Regions from separate parts of the Homo sapiens genome. Here region 1 is linked to region 2. Evidence: promoter capture Hi-C in human tissues and cell types (Jung and others, 2019). All regions are on one chromosome and are shown on one strand. Each heading gives the region's core, a stretch centred on a gene start or on the middle of the fragment in contact. The rest is flanking DNA. Distances are from core to core; before and after follow the strand shown.

Region 1 (5,047 bases), core at 212-2,711, 33 kb after region 2:
TGCCAGAAACCTAGAATTTTTTTTTTTTTTTTTTTTTTTAAGACAAGGTCTGGCTCTGTTGCCCAGGTTGGAGTGTAGAAGGGCGATCTCAGCTCACTGTGACCTCAACCTCCCAGGCTCAAGCAATCCTCTCACTTCAGCCTCCCACGTTGCTGGGATTACAGGCACACTCCACTACACCCAGCTAATTTTTTTGTATTATTTGTAGACATGGGGTTTCGCCACATTGCCCAGGCTAGTCTGGAATTCCTGAGCTCAAGCTGTCTGCCCATCTCAGCCTCCCAAAGTGCTGGGATTGCAGGAGTGCACCACCACACCTGGCCTGAAACCCAGATTTTATTTATTTATTTATTCATTTTTTGAGATGGAGTCTTGCTCTATTGCCTAAGCTTGAGTGCAGTGGCGTGATCTTGGCTCACTGCAACCTCCACCTCCCTGGTTCAAGTGATTCTCCTGCCTCAGCTTCCTGAGTAGCTGGGATTACAGGCACATGCCACCATGCCTGGCTGATTTTTGTATTTTTAGTAGAGACAGAGTTTCATCATGTTGGCCAGGCTGGTCTCGAACTCCTGACCTCAGGTGATCCACCCACCTTAACCTCCCAAAGTGCTGGGATTACAGGCATGCAACACCACACCCAGCCTGAAACCCAGATTTTTAATATGAAATCGAAGTCTTCAAACCTTGTAGGTGTCATAAAAAGCACGCTGAGGACCACTAGTTTGCAACTGCCAATCTAAAGTATCATAGACATTATATCACTTTAACCATGAAAAAAAAAGTATGTGAGGCAGAAAATGGAAGCAACCATGCCCAATTTATTGTTGAATACTTTTTACGTATACTAAGAGCTTCCTTTGCACTAGCATCTGAAACTATATTCAGAATGACATTGGTTTTCATAAAAGTATTGATCCTCACAACTCTTTATAGTCTTGCACCTAGCACAGCGGAGTGAAACACTTTAAATGGCACTTGTTCCTTGAGTATATATGGAAAAAAGTGAAGTATTGATAAGTGTTCAGCTAATATGAGCAGCATCTCAGGAGTCTCCAATTCTTGAATTACCAGGGAGTATTTTTACCATTTTCCCCCAGTGAAAGGCCTATTTTGAGAGACTTACCCTCCAAAATGAATGCATTAAGTCATATTACTTTTTTTTTTTTCTTTTTGAGACAGGGCCTTGCTCTGTTGCCCAGGCTGGAGTGCAGTGGCATGATAGTTACAGGAAAGGGGTCCCAATCCAGACCCCAAGAGAGGGTTCTTGGATCTTGCACAAGAAAGAATTCAGGGTGATCCCGCAATGTGAATTGAAAGCAAGTTTATTAAGAAAGTAAAGGAGGAGGGGCACGGTGGCTCACGCCTGTAATCCCAGCACTTTGGGAGGCCGAGACAGGTGGATCATGAGGTCAGGAGATCAAGACCATCCTGGTTAACACGGTGAAACCCTGTCTCTACTAAAAATACAAAAAAATTAGCCAAGTGTGGTGGTGGGCGCCTGTAGTCCCAGCTACTCTGGAGGCTGAGGCAGGAGAATGGCGTGAACCCGGGAGGCGAAGCTTGCAGTAAGCCGAGATCATGCCAGTGCACTCCAGCCTGGGTGACAGCGGGAGACTCCATCTCAAAAAAAAAAAAAAAAAAAAAGAAAAAGAAAGTAAAGGAATAAAAGAATGGCTACTCCATAGACAGAGCAGCCATGAGGGCTGCTGGTTGCCCATTTTTATGGTTATTTCTTGATGATATGCTAAACAAGGGGTGGATTTTTCATGCCTCCTCTTTTTAGACCATATAGGATAACTTCTTGATGTTGCCATGGCATTTGTAAACTGTCATGGTGCTGGTAGGAGTGTAGCAGGGAGGATGATGGGAGGTCACTCTTGTCACTATTTTGGTTTTGGTGGGTTTTGGCCAGCTCCTTCACTGCAACCTGTTTTATCAGCAAGGTCTTTATGACTGGTATTTTGTGCTGACCTTCTATGTCATCCTGTGACTTAGAATGCCTTAACCATTAGGGAATGCAGCCCAGTAGTTTCAGCCTCATTTTTCCCAGCTCCTATTTAAGATGGAGTTGCTCTGGTTCACATGCCTCTGACATGATCACTGCTCACTGCAGCCTCCACCTCCTGGGTTCAAGAGATACTCCTGCCTCACCCTCCCAAGGTGCTGGGACTACAGGTGTGTGCCACCACGCTCAGCTAATTTTTGTATTTTTTGTAGAGACGGGGTTTTTCCATGTTGCCCAGGCTGGTCTCAAACTCCTGGGCTCAAGCAATCCTTCTGTCTCAGCCTCCCCAAGTACTGGGATTACAGGCATGTCCCACCATGCCCAGACTAATATTTACTTTTAATCAGACTAAGATAGGGTTACTACTTGAGTTGCTATGGCTCCAGCTGAAAGCCTGTGCAGTCATATCATGGGTAAACATTTGCTTTATGCTAAAAATATGGTGGACCTGGCATTACAGCTATTACAAATCTCCTAAGGTGTCTCAGGTAGTGTATTAGTTACTTTTCATACTGCTATGAAGAAATACTCGAGACTGGGTAATTTATAAAGGAAAAGAGGTTTAATGTACTCACAGTTCCACAAGGCTGGGGAGGCCTCAGAATCATGGTGGAAGGCAAAGAAGGAGCAAAGGTACGTCTTACATGGCTGCAGGAAAGAGAGCACGTGCAGGGAAACTGCCCTTTATAAAACCATCAGATTTAGTGAGATGTATTCACTATCACAAGAACAGTATGGGAAAAACCTGCCCCCATGATTTGATTACCTCCTACCAGGTCCCTCCCACGACACATGGGGATTATGGGAACTACAATTCAAGATGAAATTTGGGTGGGGACGCAGCCAAACCATATCGGGTAGCAACAACCTAGGGTCAGTTTTGCAGGTGGTAAAGCCATTTACCAAGATAGTTGTAGGTAAAGAAGGGCAGATTTATTAGAGAAATTATGAAAATATGTTGCAGTGGGCAGCTCAGCAGAGAAGGGGCTACCTGCAAAGAGGCAGGGGCTGGAGGAAAGTTTTATAGGGTCCTGCTGAAGGGTGCTACGTGTGGAATGAGGTCATTGTGCCCGCAGGTTGTTTGTGATTAGCTGTCTCTAACAATTGTTCATACAGTAATTGTTCATTATTGTTCTCAACTTGGGGCTCTCCCCAACCTGGGGACCCTTCCTTATTGTTGCTTACTTATCAGGACTCCACATAAGGGTGTGGAAACTTCATTCATTCATATCTTCAACACAAATTGTAGGTAGCCTGTTTTTTAAAAAATTTATTCAACAAATATTTAGTCCAAGCCACTGTTACTTATTACCCTCTCTACTTCTGTATGGACTTTTAACTATCTCTGACACTATTCACTATTCTTCCACATTCTCTATTATTTATACCTATGGTAAAATTTGCCAGTTTGACCATGCAACTAATACTCACAGGGAATATATAGAGTCTAGAAGAAAATATACAGGTCCTTAGAGGCTGCTCTGCCAACAAAACCATAATGCAGGAACAAACATCACAACTATGCCAAATAATCAATCCTACAATGTCCAAAATTTTACTTTAAAACTGGAATTTCCAGACTTCCTTTCTGCATTAACCAGTTTAACTAGATAGTAATGAAATATCCCTCTACTTTATGCTGTGATAGTTTATTTATTTATTTGAGACAGAGTTTCGCTCTTGTTGCCCAGGCTGGAGTGCAATGGCGCGATCTCAGCTCACCACAACCTCCGCCTCCCAGGTTCAAGTGATTCTCCTGCCTCAGCCTCCTGAGTAGCTGGGATTACAGGCATGTACCACCACGCCCAGCTAAGTTTGTATTTTTAGTAGAGACGGGAGTTTCTCCATGTTGGTCAGGCTGGTCTAGAACCCCTGAACACAGGTGATACCCCTGCCTCAGCCTCCAAATGTGCTGGGATTACAGGCATGAGCCACCGTGCCTGGCCAGAAAATTTTAAACACACAAACTCTCAGGTGGCCTAATTCCCTCTCACCAAACCAGTCAAAATACAGACAAAAGAGAATAACTATATTAGTTATTGTACAAACAAAAAAGACTGATAAATTGTGAATGATGCATGATTTTTAATTACAAGTAAACTGGGCAAATGCTTCTGCATTGTTTAAAGCTAAAAGGTGATCAGTGGAAACTTTCCTCTGTTAGTACTCTAATACTTTTTATATTTATCGGCTCACTACAACCTGTGCCTACCAGGTTCAAGCGATTCTCCTGTCTCAGCCACCTGAGTAGCCGAGACCACAGGCATGCACTACCATGCCCGGCTAATTTTGTATTTTTAATAGAGACAGGGTTTCACCGTGTTGGCCATGCTGGTCTTGAACTCCTGACCTCAACCGATCCACCTGCCTTGGCCTCCCAAAGTTTTGGGATTACAAGCGTGAGCTACCGCGCCCAGCCTTATTATAATTATTATTTAAATATCTTTTGCTCTCTCCTTCAAGAGAGACCTCATCTCATTCAGTGGCATCCATTTATTTATTCATCTTCTGCCTCCTGGGCTCGAGAGATCCTCCTGCATGAGTCTCCCAAGTAGCTGGGACTACAGGCTCACACCACCATGCTTGGCTAATTTTTGTAGGTTTTGGAGAGACAGGCTCTTGCCATGTTGCCTAGGCTGGTCTCAAACTCCTGGGCTCAGATGATCCACCTGCCTTCGCCTCTCAAAGCACTGGGATTATAGACATGAGCCACCACGCCCAGCCCCAAGTACTTTTACACAAAATGCAAACACTATTCTTCTATCATAAAAGTGATACCACAGCTTCTGTGAAGTTTTGCCAGGTAGTACTCATAATTACCTTGGGTAAACTTTTTGATGTTAAACTGTATCTTCTTATTATGAGTTTTTCCATTGTATTAACAACTTTTACAACAACGCAAATAACAAGTTATTTAACAAACCATTTAGAAATTTCTGTACTATGGTCCTGATAATGTAAAATATATTAATGCCTATTACATTCAGATAAATTATACACTTGGAAACTACATACTTATGACTTACAGAAACTTACATAAAC
Region 2 (5,040 bases), core at 2,037-4,536:
ATATTCTATAGTAATATAATCTGCATCAATGCGTCACACCCCGATCTGGAGCAAGGCATGCTCCACCAGGCATGTTCCCACCACCACCAAATTTTGTGGGCCTGTGAGGACCCACCCTCTACCTTTCTTAGGTCTACCCGGAAGAGTCTCATGTTTTTGGTCATCAGAGCAAAAGGCAGACAGTCCCCCCCGTGGAAGATGAGACAAGTCTGGAGGAAGTGAGGCGACTCTCCCAGAAGAACAGGACCAAAGCTGGGCTGAGCCGGGGCCTCCTTCCCTGGATTCACATGCCCCACACCTGGACCTTTGCTTTTTTCTTTTTGTTGTGGTTTTTTTTTTTTTTTGGGGGGGGGGACTCTAGGTCTCAAAAAAAAGAGAAAAGAGAAAAAAGACCTTGGGCTTTCTTTTTTCCTGTTGCCCAGGTTGGAGTGCACTGGAGTGAGAATAGCTCACTGCAACGTTGACCTCCCAGGCTCAAGCAATCCTCCAACCTTAGACTTTTGAGTAGCTGGGACTATAGCGCTATGCCACCATGCCCTGCTGATTATTTGCATCTTTTATAGAGATGGAGTCTCCCCATGTTTCCTGGGCTGGTCTGGAACTCCTGAGCTCAAGCGGTCCACCCATCTTGGCCTCCCAAAATGCTGGCATTACAGCGGTGAGCCACCCAGGTGGCAAACCTTTTAAAATATTTATTTGTTTTGTTTGAAACAATGTCTCGTTGTGTCTCCCAGGCTGGAGTGCAGTGGCACAATCTCGGCTCACTGCAACCACCGCCTCCCAGGTGCAAGCTATTCTCCTGCCTCAGCCTCCCGAGTAGCTGGGATTACTGGCGCCTGCCCCAACGCCTGGCTAATTTTTGTATTTTTAGTAGAGACGGGGTTTCTCCATGTTGGCCAGGCTGATCTCAAACTCCTAACCTTGGGTGATCTGCCCACCTCGACCTCCGAAAGTGCTGGTATTACAGGCGTGAGCCACAACAGGCCCAGCCCCCTGCCACCTGCCGCTTTTTTTTTTTTTTTTTTTTTTTTTTTGAGACAGAGTTTTGCTCTTGTTTCCCAGGCTGCAGTGCAATGGTGAGGTCTCGGCTGACTACAACCTCTGCCTCCCAGCTTCAAGCAATTCTCCTGCTTCAGCCTCCCAAGTAGCTGGGATTACAGATGCCTGCCACCATGCCCGGCTAATTTTTTTGTATTTTTAGTAGAGATGGGGTTTTGCCATGTTGGCCAGGCTGATCTCAAACTCCTAGTCTCAGGTGATCCACCTGCCTCAGCCTCTTCAAGTGCTGGAATTACAGGTGTGAGCCACCGCACTGGTGGGACACTCTTTCTATTCATCGTTTTTTGAGACAGTGTTTCTCTGTCACCCAGCCTGGAGTGCACTGGTGTGATCATAGCTCACTGTAGCCTTAAACTCCTAGGCTCAGATGATCCTCCCACCTCAGCCTCCTGAGTAGCTGGTATTACAGGCACACACCACTATGCACAGCTAAGTTTTTTTTTTGGAAGAGACTTATCTGGAACTTCTGGCTTCAAGGGATCTTCCCACCTCAGCCTCCCAAAGTACTGAGATTGCGGGTGTGAACCACTGTGCCCAGTCTCACCTTGACCTTCTGATCCAACAGAGTCTGGGGGAGCAGAGCCAGGGGCAGGTGTGTCTTCAGGAGTCGTGGGGCTGGTGTGTTTTTCAGAGTCTCCATCCCTGAGCAGTGGGTCAGGGAAGGTCTGGTGAGCTGAAGCCCCAGCCCTGTCTTCCTCCACTCCCCTTGCACCCAGGACACACACACCTGAGGGAATCCCTGGGACTTTGAACTCAAGGAAGGGCACCCGCATGAAGATGGGAGCTCGGTGACACTTTTCCAGGTCACCGCCCTGGTAGATCATGTCCAGAATCTGGCTCACCCAGGTGGTGCCTGGAGAGGGAGGGAGATGGGAGGTGAGCAGGCTGAGGTGAGCATGACCTCGCTGGCCAAGGTGGGGACTGCCACCTGGGAGAGGGTGGGTGGCCCTCCTCACCTACCGGACTTGGGGTAGGTGCTGATGAGCAGGTCATCAGGCCGGGCCTGGAAGCTCTGCAGGGGCCCCAGTGCCTCTGCAAAGTACTTGATGAGCGGGACCCCCTTCACGTACTCCAGTGGCGGGCGAGAGATGTCCTGGATCAGCTCCATGTTCCTGCGTCAGGGGCCAGAGCCAGGCCCGTTCCCTTACCACCATCACAACAGCAAGAAAGTGGAATTCTTGCTTTCAGGGAAGTCACTGAGGCCTAGGGAGGCTGAGTGACTTGCCCGCACTCACAAGGCCAGTCAGTGGCGGGGCTGGGGCTGAAAACCAGGTCGGGCTCTAATGTGGTGGTTCCCCAGCCTGGCCTCACCTTTCATTCACCTGCGGAGCTGTTCAAAATCCCAGGGCCTGGGCCATGGTGCAGACCAGTGAAAGCACCCTCGTGGCGCGGGGCCCAGATGTCAGGGTGTGTGAAGGTCTCCAGGAGAGTCCAGCTGCACTGAGGAACCTCTAGGACCTTCCTGTGCTGTCTTCCTGCCAGCCAGCGCCCTTTGTCTCACCATTTCCTGCTGGGACCCCCAGCCTCCACCCAGTAGGCTCCTCTCCCCGATGTTCCCCTCCTTGAGCCCCTCGGCCCCTCACATGTGGCAACTCCTAGGCTGGCCAGGCCTGTGATCCACTTGCCCGGCCACAGTCCATCTGGGCTCCAGGACAAACAGCCCATTGAGCAACTGAGCTGGTATTGGGGGCCAGAGCCTGATGTGGGAATGAGCAAAACTGTGATGACTCAGCAAAAGGAGGATCCTGGGCAGGGTGGCTCCCACCTGTAATCCCAGACCCTAGGGAGGCTGAGGCCAGAATTTGGAGACCAATCTGGGCAGCATTGGAAGACCCCATCTCTAAAAATCTTTTAAAAATATTTTTTAAAACTATCCAGGCAGGATGGTGAGGGTCTGTAGTCCTAGCTACTGAGGCAGGAGAATCACTTGAGCCCAGGAATTCAAGGCTGCAGTGGCCAGGATCCCACAGCACTCCAGCCTCGGTGACAGCAAGACCTGGCCTCCCCGGAAAAAAAAAAAAGGAAGGGAGGGGGATTCAGGCCGGCCGGGGTTGTCTGAAATGGGATATCCATGGGGAGAGGGCAGGGATAGCAGAGGCCTCGGCTTCTGGAATGTTGGAGCCACAAGCTGAGCAGGGTGAGGGCGTCCTGGGCCATTCCGGTGTGTCACTCACCTGAGCTCTTGGGAACCTGGCCTTGTGCCCTCCTCGCCCGCAGTGGCTGAGTGTGGGTGTTGTGTGGGGAATGCAGGGGTGTTGTCTGTGCTGAGGGTTTCTTAGGTCAGTGTGGGAGGGATCTGGAGCCGGGGCTGGACTTAGATTTGCTTCCGGAAGGAAGGGGTAGGGTTGGGGGTGGGGGAGCTTCTCTATTACCCTCCTTAGTTTGCCAGCTGGAGACAAGCTTAAAGTGATCTCCAAAGCCACGACTGGGTTTGGTGTGTAGAAAACAGAAGAATGAAAGGGGAAAGGGCCCAATGGTGGGTTTGTTTTTGTGGGTTTTTTTTTTTGAGCTGTCACTGGGCTCCTGACCTGCCCCTGAACTCCAAAAGACAAGCTTTCTCTAATTGACCCAGGCAAGAGAGGGGAGGGATTGGAGGAGAAAGATGGGATAGGCAGGCCCTGGAAAGGTCACCTACCTGCTGGCTCCAGGCCAGTCTTGAAGGTGCCAGGGGTCCTGGCCCAGTGCAACCCACAGGCCTCCAGCAGCCCATGCACTCCAGGCTCTGACCACAAGGCCAGTCTGGAGTGATGCGTGTGGGCAGAGTGAAGGGGCAGGGGTGGAGCAGAGCATGGATCCATAGAACAAGAAAGAACAAGGACACTGCAGTCCCATTGCCCTGGGAGCCAGCCCCAGCTTCATGGCTCCCTGGGGACCTCACAGAACATCGATAGAAGATCCTAGAAGAACCACAGCCCCTGGCAGGTACTTTTCTTTCCATGGGTTTGAAGGAGGCTCCACAGACAGAGGCCAGAGGAGGTTGAGGCTTGGAAGCCACAGGGCCCCGTGGAAGGAGTGCATCCCCCCACCCTCCTCGTTCTTTGTCCTCACTATTTAAAGTCCAGGGTCAAGCTGGGCACGAGACAGGTAAACAACCATCTGAGTAAAGGTGAGTCTCCCAAGCCTTCCCAGGGTTGCGTGAGCTCAGAGGCAAGCGGGGAAAACTGAGGCATGGGATTTCCAGGCAGAGGAGAGGCTGCTCCCCTGCTAGGGCCACAGGCCCCTCCTCCCTCCTCTGTGCCCCTGAGGAATCCCCATGACTGGCAGGTCCTCCGGCTACTAGCTCCACCCCTGCCCTCAGCAACCTTCAGGAGGCCCTCTTGACTGAGACTTTGTATTGCACTCTAGTGAAAACCAGCCGGACCAGCAGGGGGTGGCACAGAAAAGAGGCGAGAATGTGAGATTAATAGAGTGCTAGCAAGACAACAGAAAATCCCAGGCAGCAGTTTCACATGACCAGAAGAAGGAAACTTGAAATAGCTGCATGTGCCAAGGGCCAATAAGTCCCTGAAAAATAGGATGAGGACCAAGCTGGCTGCGACCAACCAGAAGCAACATGGCGCTGTATTTGATGTAGGTTTCACCTAGGATCTCACTGTACAATCAGTAACATATGAAACCGTACACCCACCAGTGCCAAGACGGCTCCAGGAACACCTGTATTTGGGTGTAAATTGTGGCACCACGGTCTTGAGAAATCTTTACCTTTTCCTGGAATCTTCATGAATATACCCCTCTTTAGTTGAAGAAGCCCATAAAGGTCAGCCCCACACCTTGTAGGGCATGAGACACTCTCTTGAGGACCCCCACGTTCCTCTTCTTCAGTGAGTCCCTTTACTCTGCAGGAAATCTGCCTACGTTCATGACTTTTGCACTTGTCCTTAAATTGTTTCTGGCTAAGGTGCCAAGAGCCTGGAGAAGGCCTGGCACGGTGGCTCACTCCTGTAATCCCAGCACTTTGGGAGGCCGAGGCAGGCAGACCAC

The links. The method cuts DNA at HindIII sites, captures the fragments that hold promoters and counts their contacts. A contact is called where the count stands out against the background at its distance.
Region 1: a contact is called between a fragment that was not itself captured here and the fragment with the promoter of SULT1A2 in region 2, in 1 of the 25 tissues and cell types used here (psoas muscle).

Annotation. Positions count from the first base shown.
Region 1 is chr16:28,628,454-28,633,500 of GRCh38, forward strand. No RefSeq gene overlaps it. Among named protein-coding and RNA genes, the nearest start is that of NPIPB8, 7.1 kb to the right of the region's middle. The HindIII fragment of the contact is 3,733 bases long and covers 1-3,328 here.
Region 2 is chr16:28,593,764-28,598,803 of GRCh38, forward strand. SULT1A2 (sulfotransferase family 1A member 2) reads right to left here and starts at 3,287. Exons shown (of 8, transcript NM_001054.4): 1 at 3,234-3,287; 2 at 2,020-2,171; 3 at 1,787-1,912; 4 at 1,604-1,701. The coding sequence starts at 2,167. RefSeq lists an enhancer at 3,225-3,519. The HindIII fragment of the contact is 13,947 bases long and covers 1-5,040 here.